3 separate regions of the Homo sapiens genome follow, and all the other regions are linked to region 1. Evidence: promoter capture Hi-C in human tissues and cell types (Jung and others, 2019). All regions are on one chromosome and are shown on one strand. Each heading gives the region's core, a stretch centred on a gene start or on the middle of the fragment in contact. The rest is flanking DNA. Distances are from core to core; before and after follow the strand shown. Region 1 holds the start of SUPT4H1 (SPT4 homolog, DSIF elongation factor subunit). Region 2 overlaps SKA2 (spindle and kinetochore associated complex subunit 2). Region 3 has its middle 110 kb from the start of TRIM37.

Region 1 (2,675 bases), core at 75-2,574:
GATCTACCATTACTACACCTCCCTTCCCTTCATTTTCAAAAAAAATTTTCATGCATTTAACAAACATTATTAAGATTACATTCTTTCTTCTCATGTTAAGTCTTTGAAATCTGGGGTATATTTTATACTTAAAAGCATGTCTTAATTTGGACTAGACACATTTCAAGTGCTCAGTAGCTACACGTGGATAGTGGTCACTGTATTAGATGCATAGCACTAGTATGTCCCAAAATAACTGTTGAGGCTGGACACAGTGGCTTACACCTATAATCCCAGCACTCTGGGAGGTTGAAGTCAGAGGATCATTCCACGCTGCAGTGAGCTATGATCATGCCACTGCACTCCAGCCTGAGCCACAGAGCAAAACCCTGATTCAAAAAAAAAAAAAAAAAAAAAAACCCACACAAAATAACCCCCAAAAACGAATGGCTGGGCCCAACTAGGATTAACACTTGCCCTGCATTTACTTCTCTGGGTGCAGGTTGGGTAATGCAGAAGTGAATGATGGAAACTGAAGCGGCTTACCCATCAAAGGAAGAGCTAGTGCAGTCATATACCATCTCTCGGTTACCCTTCATTTGTAGATATGCATCACAATTGTCACAACCATCATATTCAAACTGGTCTATAGTCTGGGAGTGAAAGAAAAATAAAGGAAAAGGAGAGATAAGCATGAACAAGACCAAGAGAAAAAGTAGCTTTCTCAATACTTCGACCTGCTCAATTTCTTGTTTCCCTATGTTGACTGTGTATCCTAAGGTTCCCCACCTACTACTCTCAAAGCTTCATTCCTAAGTCCCACCCTCCCACTCCTTCCTCTCTCGTTCCCAATTCCGTTTTATCTATTCCTTTCTCTAGTCTACTCAGGGTCAGGCATCCTTTCCGACTACTCACTCAGCAGCGGATCCCCACCCGCCTCTGACTCCCAGTGTCTTTCGGCTCCAACGTAAGTTCACCGAACGTCTAAGAGCTGAGGATTCAAAGGCATGTAAGACCGCCCCTGCCCTCAGCTGCAAGACCTGTCCGCGATCCTACGAGGTAAACGATGGCCTCCTTCGGCTTCTCACTCCCCCTGCCACCTCTGAGTTCTGAGACTTAACTTTTCTCTTTACTGTCCCACAGCCCCATTCCGCCCTCTTTCCCCGACCTTGGTCCCCCATGGGCCCTACAACCAGGTCCCCGACTGACACCTTGACCAGCGAACACAGCAAACAGGCCCGCAGATGCCGCAGGTCCTTCGGCACCGTCTCCAGGGCCATCTTCGCCGATGGGAAGAACAACAGGGAGATAGACGACCACAGCCTGTGCACCCGCAGGAAGTAAATAGCTCGTTACCCAGAATGCCCACCACTTCCGGCGCTTAGACTTCCTCTTCCGGTGTGGGCGGACGCCAGCTCCGCCCCTACCCCCGCCAGAGGAGATGGTTTCTCCCGCCAGCAGGCGGGGAGGCTGGGCGGCCGGCCGCCACCTGGGCCGGAGCGCGTCGCAGCCACCTGAGCCCGCCGAGGGCGCGGCGGAGGCTGTGTGGGGTAGTCAGCGGGCCCCCGGGGCGGGGGGGCGGCTGCGCTTGCGCGGGAGTGTGTCGGGCTGAGCCGCAGCGCCGAGACGCGGGCTGTTTGATCTGGGCTGGTGGCCCTGGGCGTCGGTCCTGTTCCCCGATGGTAACCCGAAGTTTGTTTTTTTTTGTTTTGTCTCCCCGTTTTAGAAGCATTGGGGGCAGTGAATCCACTGTCTCCCTCTGGATTGTCTCTGCAGAGACCGAGAAGAAATCCAGGGACAGCCCCACCCCTCCTTCCTAACTGCGAGAGCGCTATAGGGTTTCCACTTGCTTCCCACAGGAATGCTGGCCTGGGAGCTACGGCGGAAAAAAATGCGTATTTATCTTTTAAAACTCCGTCTGTTTGCTCGTTCCGGCTGATAATTTATACTTTGCGCAGTTCTTAGCGCTTAGACACGGTTCCTTTACTAAAGACCATTTGTAGGAGATTAGGTGTCCTTTTTTTCCCTTTCATTTCACCGTCTAGGAAGCGAAATGCCTTGTTCTATAGGCACTAAACCACCACCCCTACCAAACCTTTCTCGGGGAAGCAGAAGGGGAACTTGTGCCTTGTGAGGAAGCGACAAAGGCCCCTTCTGGCCCTGGAGACTTCACGCCAATGGAGCACCAGCTCTCTGTCCTCGCAATAGCCCGAGTGCAGGCAGAACGCAGTCATTTGTGTTTATCTGAGAGGAGCTTTGGGATATAAATAGTTTCAGGCCCCGCTGCGCTGTCATTCCAGCCCAGCCTCCTGATTGAGCTGCTTCCGGGCGGGCTTTCTTCTTGTTGGCGGTCCCATGCTGTGTTCAGATGGGCTCTGTGACAGGTTTGGATGTTTTCTATCACTGAATAAAACTTTCCACTTTGGAACATATTTTCTACACTCTATTATCTCATGTAAGTCCTGCAACAACTATTAAGTAGGCCCATTTTATGGACTGAAAAAGCGAGGCACAGAGTATTTGCCCAAGGTCTGAGTCACTGAAGTATGATAATGTGTGAAGTGAACAGTATAATAATAATGACTGAAGCACAGTAAGAATCCAGTCATGCTTTCTCCTTCCCTGATCTCACTAAGCCACACTTTTAGGGGCTTACAAACCAGTTCTTATTGCCAAGCCCTCTACTCTACCCTATC
Region 2 (2,675 bases), core at 56-2,555, 770 kb after region 1:
TACCAATTTGTAGTCTCAAAAATATACCATCAATTTATTATATCCAGTGGGGGAAATTTGTAAATATTCAAAATACCATTTTTCCCTTTGCCCTCTCACCCAAGTTTATTCTGTGCTTCAATAAATTTATGGTTCTATACAGATATGTTGTCATGTACATCTGGAACTATACTTAATCAGCTATTTGTTTTCCAAGAACAAGGTTATGTGCTCTATTGTCAGGCACATATAATGAAGAATGTGTGATTTGAGATGATTTATAAAAGCTTATCATATACATACTTTTTTTTGCATTTAATTTACTAGCATGTGACACAACCCTGTTTTAAATTCTGTCTCCCCATTACCTCTATTCCCTGTTCAATTGCCCTTCCTTCCTCCATCATTCATCTCCTTGTGATATAACAGATACATCTAAGGTATCATTTTATCGTTCTAAGCAGATATTATTCTATTTTTTCCCCTCCATTTGCAATATAAAGTATTCTTGATCAAACTGACCTGGGTAATTAACCTTTCTGATTTACTCTAGCTACAAGCCCATAATTCAAAGTATCTTAAGCCAAAATTTAGTGTAGAGTTGGCAAATAAATATCACATATGCAGCCCTTCCTCCTTCCCATGCTCGTGGCAGACTACGCTATTTTCTGCCATGTCCAGACACAGCTCCTTGATACAGCACTCTAAGCCACCCTTTTCTAGACATCTCAGTCTCACTAGTACTTACAGGAACCAGCTAAGCTGCTAGATTTTATAAGTATTACCAAGTTTTCTGCCATGGTTACATAATTCAAGACAGCACAATTCTTTATTAACCATGTCAAGTCCAAATGCTTATTTTTAAATAAACAGAAATAAGAGCTATTATACTTCAGGGTATCAGGAAAATCTTTCAATAGTTCAAACTGACTGCTGAGTTTCAAAATTTAAGTTACATCAGGTTTATTTTTCAAAGCAACACTCAGAGCTAAAGCTAAACAAATCTAACCTGTCAACTGAAAGCATTACCTCCAGGTCTGTTTGCTTCTGTAGTTTTTGTATCATATTCATAGTCTTTTTCACAGTAGCACAAATGCGGCTCTTACTCTCTTTCTGCTCAACAGCAACTGGTTTAAAGCGGGCATACAAAGTTTGATATCGAGACTTTATCACTGACAATTCCTTTAAGAGTGTAACTGGATTTTTCTATGTCAGGAAAAAAGTGAACATGTATTAAATTATGAAAGATTAAACTTTTTAAGAATTAAAATACTGTATACATACAACACATTCTACCATCCATTTAATTGAACACTGTTGAGTATTTAATTATGCAGCCACATGACATCAGATGGGAGGTGGGGAAGAGAGAAAAGTATAAGACCTAGATCCTATTCTCAAGGAATTTATAGCCTAGGTACAGAAATAACCCACCAAAAAAATTAGCAATATTAAACAGCAAATAAGGGTCACCTTAGATATATAACATTTGATGGATAGTTCACAATAATAAATTATACAATATTTCTAAAATACAATTCTAAATGCTATTCAGAAGAAGATAAAAGGCACTATTAGTATTTGTTCTTAAAGAATAAGAACTTGAAACTACTTATAAAAATCTTTTTTTTTTTTTTGAGATGGAGTCTCACTCTGTTGCCCAGGCTGGAGTGCAGTGGCGCAATCTCAGCTCACTGCAAGCTTCACCTCCCAGGTTCATGCCATTCTCCTGCCTCAGCCTCCGGAGTAGCTGGGACTACAGGCGCCCGCCACCACGCCCAGCTAATTTTTTGTATTTTTAGTAGAGAAGGGGTTTCACCGTGTTAGCAAGGATGGTCTCAATCTCCTGACCTTGTGATCCGCCCGCCTCAACCTCCCAAAGTGCTGGGATTACAGGTGTGAGCCACTGCGCCCGGCCAAAATTCGTAAACATACTATCATGGGGATAAAGTATGTATAAATATCAATTTACTTATATACACACAAAATATAAAATTCATGCCAACCCAACTGTATTTATAAACTATGCTGGTTTTCCAGATTTATTTTGTAATATACATTACCACTATTCCATAAAAGACATTTCAATTGGACCCCTTCTGCCACTTGGTAATTCTTTTCTTTAATTTTTTTTTTAAATAGATACAGGAATCTCACTGTGTTGCCCAGGCTGGTCTTAAACTCCTGGCCTCAAGTGATCCTCCTGCATCAGCCTCCCAAAGTGCTAGAATTACAGGTGTGAGCCACTGTATCCTGCCAGATTTCTTTTTTTATGATTAGGTAAGATTCATATATTTTCAGGCCCCACCAAGTGACAGCACAATTAATAAAAAGATCTATACCATAACTGTAAATTTTCGCAGGATAGAAAAAATATTCTGAAACTTCCAGGTGATAGGTAAGGGACTGGGGTAGGCTGAGGAGGAAAGCACAGACAAAGGATCAGGAATGAGAATGGCATCCATTTTTCAACAGCAACAATAGAAGCTAGAAAACCACGAAGTAATGATGTTAAAATTAAGAGAAAATCTCCAATCTAGAATCCTATATTCAACCAAACCACTCATCAAACAAAGGGTTAGGCCGGGCGCAGTGGCTCACGCCTGTAATCCCAGCACTTTGGGAGGCCGAGGCGGGCAGATCATGAGGTCAGGAAATCGAGACCATCCTGGCTAACACGGTGAAACCCCGTCTCT
Region 3 (2,675 bases), core at 96-2,595, 640 kb after region 1:
ATAAAAAAGAAGGAGGTGCTGATTCACACAAGATGAGTGAAACTTAACTGCACTTTGCGAAGCGAGAGGTCAAACTGTGATCCCGTTTACATGACTCTGGAAAAGCAAAAACTAAAAGGGCAGAGAACAGATCAGATCAGATCAGATCAGCGGTAGCCAGGAGCTGTGGGGAAGGGGGGTGGTTACCTATAAAGGGCCAGCACAGGGGAATCTTGGGGGTGACTGAAATGTTCTGTATAGTATTGTGGTGGCGGATACAAGACATTTGTTGAAACCCACAGAACTGTATGCCAGAAAGACTGAATTTTAATGTATGTAAATTTACAAATTAACCAGGATATGTGGGGGAGGACAGAATGTAGACCATAACAGATGAACCTGTTACACCAACGAAGCACAAAATCACAATGAAGGGATTTTGTGAAAGAACAGAACTAATGTAATTTTGAACCTAAATATCTTTGAAAAAAATGTTATGACACAATACTGAAAAGCTAAAGACTAAAAGAACTGTATACAAGCACTGTATTTTAGGTGGTAAATCTGTTTTTTGTAGGGCATAGCCTGGAATCCACAGGAGGCCAACGGTTCTGAAGCTACTTGTATATTAGGGTTGAACAAGTACATACATATATTGTAGCTAATGAGAGCTAGGCTTCTGTCAGAGAAAGGCATTATAAATAAGAGGGAAGGCCAGAATGAGGCCTCTGGAGCTGAACTGTTACCAATATAGACTCACAGTCATAGTGACACACACACACAGATATGTACAGAAATACACATAAATGTGTGTATTTGCATGAGTTAACTATACAGTCAGCCCTCTATTATCTTTGGTTTCTGCATCCATGGAGTCAACCAACAATAGACAGAATTTATTTTTAAAAAATAATAAAAAAAATAGCACAATAATTTACATAGCATTTACATTGTATTAGGTATTACAGGTAATCCAGAGATGATTTAAAGTATCTGGGAGATCAGGCGTGGTGGCTCACACCTGTAGTCCCAGCTACCTGAGAGGCTGAGGTGGGAGGATTGCTTGAGCCTAAGACTTCATAGCTGCAGTAAGCTATGCACAGCTGCACCCTAGCCTGGGCAACAGAATGAGACCGTCTCAAAACCCAAAACAAAGTATCCAGGAGGATGTGCACAGGTTATATGCAAACACTATACCGTTTTATATAGGGGACTTGAGCATCTGTGGACTTTGGTATCCACAGGGAGTCTTGGAACCAATCCCTCACAGATGCTAAGGAACAGCTGTCTATATACATTTTCTTTCTTTCTTTTTTTTTTTTTTTGAGACAGAGTTTCGCTCTTGTTGCCCAGGCTGGAGTGCAAATGGCACGATCTCGGCTCACTGCAACCTCCGCCTCACGGGTTTAAGCGATTCTCCTGCCTCAGCCTCCTGAGTAGCTGGGATTACAGGCATGCGCCATCACAGCCAGCTAATTTTGTATTTTTAGTACAGATGGGGTTTCTCCATGTTGGTCAGGTTGGTCTCGAACTCCCGACCTCAGGTGATCCACCTGCCTCAGCCTCCCAAAGTACTGGGATTACAGGCATGAGCCACTGTGCCCGGCCATACATTTTCTTTTTTTTGAGACAGTGTCTCACTCTGTCACGCAGGCTGAAGTGCAGTAGCACGATTTTGGCTCACTGCAACCTCTACCTCCCAAGCTCAAGTGATCCTCCCACCTCAGCCTCCCAAGTAGCCGGGACCACAGGTGTGCACCACCACACCCAGCCAATTTACATTTTCTATCTATCCATTGAGTGGGACTAGAAGCAGTGACAGTCTAATAATAATAAATATGTGGCATCCAAATCTTTGTTTCTAGATAGCATTCTCCAATAAAAAGAACCATGGTTCCTTAGGAAGTGGTTAATTCCATGGCTGGGGTAGGCATCTTGTGATGTCAGAAAGCAAAGAAATGCTTAAAAAAAAAAAAAAAGAAGAATGAGACATATGAAAAGGGCACAGGAGCCAATCTGGAAGAGTTTCCAATGGCTAAAATTAGAACAAGCCAAGCTACAAAATATTAACAGTATTGAGTCATAACTCAAAAATAAATATCCATCATATATAGATATATAAAGTAGCTGATATAAATAAGTAGCTGAAATTACAAAAATGGGGAAGAAGGGACTTTTCCTCACAGCATTCTAACAAAAAACATAGAAGAAATTAGTGAATTAGAAAAGTACCATTAAAACATTACAGTAATAATTCCCATAGGCAAGATCGACTACTAGGTGCTAAAATTCGTAAGCAAGAGTTTTGGCTGGGCGCAGTGGCACATGCCTCTATCGCAGCACTTTTGGAGGCTGAGACGGGAGGGTCACTTGAACCCAAGAACTCAAGAACTCCATCTCTATAAAAAATACAAAAATTATCCCAGTGTGACTGCGCATGCCTGTAGTCCCAGCTACTTAGGAGGCTGAAGTGGGAGGATCGCTTAAGCCCAGGGGGTTGAGGCTGTATGAGCCAACATCGCACCACTACAGCATGGGTAACAAAGCCAGACCCTGTCTTCCAAAAAAAAATAATAATAATAATTAATAGAAACAAGGTATCTGCATAGTTTCAAAGTATCTGCCCCAAATATTTAGTAATTACAAAGGGGGAAAACGTAAATCTATAGTAGGAAATCCTCACAGACACCATCTTA

Evidence for each region. Contacts are between HindIII fragments. The study calls those that stand out against the background at their distance.
Region 2: a contact is called between a fragment that was not itself captured here and the fragment with the promoter of SUPT4H1 in region 1, in 1 of the 25 tissues and cell types used here (bladder).
Region 3: a fragment that was not itself captured here is called in contact with the fragment with the promoter of SUPT4H1 in region 1 in 1 of the 25 tissues and cell types used here (dorsolateral prefrontal cortex).

The regions. Positions count from the first base shown.
Region 1 is chr17:58,350,877-58,353,551 of GRCh38, forward strand. SUPT4H1 (SPT4 homolog, DSIF elongation factor subunit) reads right to left here and starts at 1,325. Exons shown (of 5, transcript NM_003168.3): 1 at 1,191-1,325; 2 at 526-632. The coding sequence starts at 1,259. It overlaps TSPOAP1-AS1 (TSPOAP1, SUPT4H1 and RNF43 antisense RNA 1), which reads left to right. Exons shown (of 5, transcript NR_038410.1): 4 at 868-1,038; 5 at 1,123-2,675. It also overlaps a transcript of RNF43 not described here. RefSeq lists silencers at 899-1,008, 1,289-1,718 and an enhancer at 2,106-2,641. The HindIII fragment of the contact is 5,411 bases long and covers 1-2,675 here.
Region 2 is chr17:59,118,311-59,120,985 of GRCh38, forward strand. It overlaps SKA2 (spindle and kinetochore associated complex subunit 2), which reads right to left. Exons shown (of 4, transcript NM_182620.4): 3 at 1,009-1,185. LOC124904039 (a long non-coding RNA gene) reads left to right here. Exons shown (of 2, transcript XR_007065864.1): 2 at 1-143. Among named protein-coding and RNA genes, the nearest start is that of TRIM37, 13 kb to the left of the region's middle. The HindIII fragment of the contact is 4,853 bases long and covers 1-2,675 here.
Region 3 is chr17:58,993,462-58,996,136 of GRCh38, forward strand. It overlaps a transcript of TRIM37 not described here. Among named protein-coding and RNA genes, the nearest start is that of TRIM37, 110 kb to the right of the region's middle. RefSeq lists a silencer at 36-236. The HindIII fragment of the contact is 8,511 bases long and covers 1-2,675 here.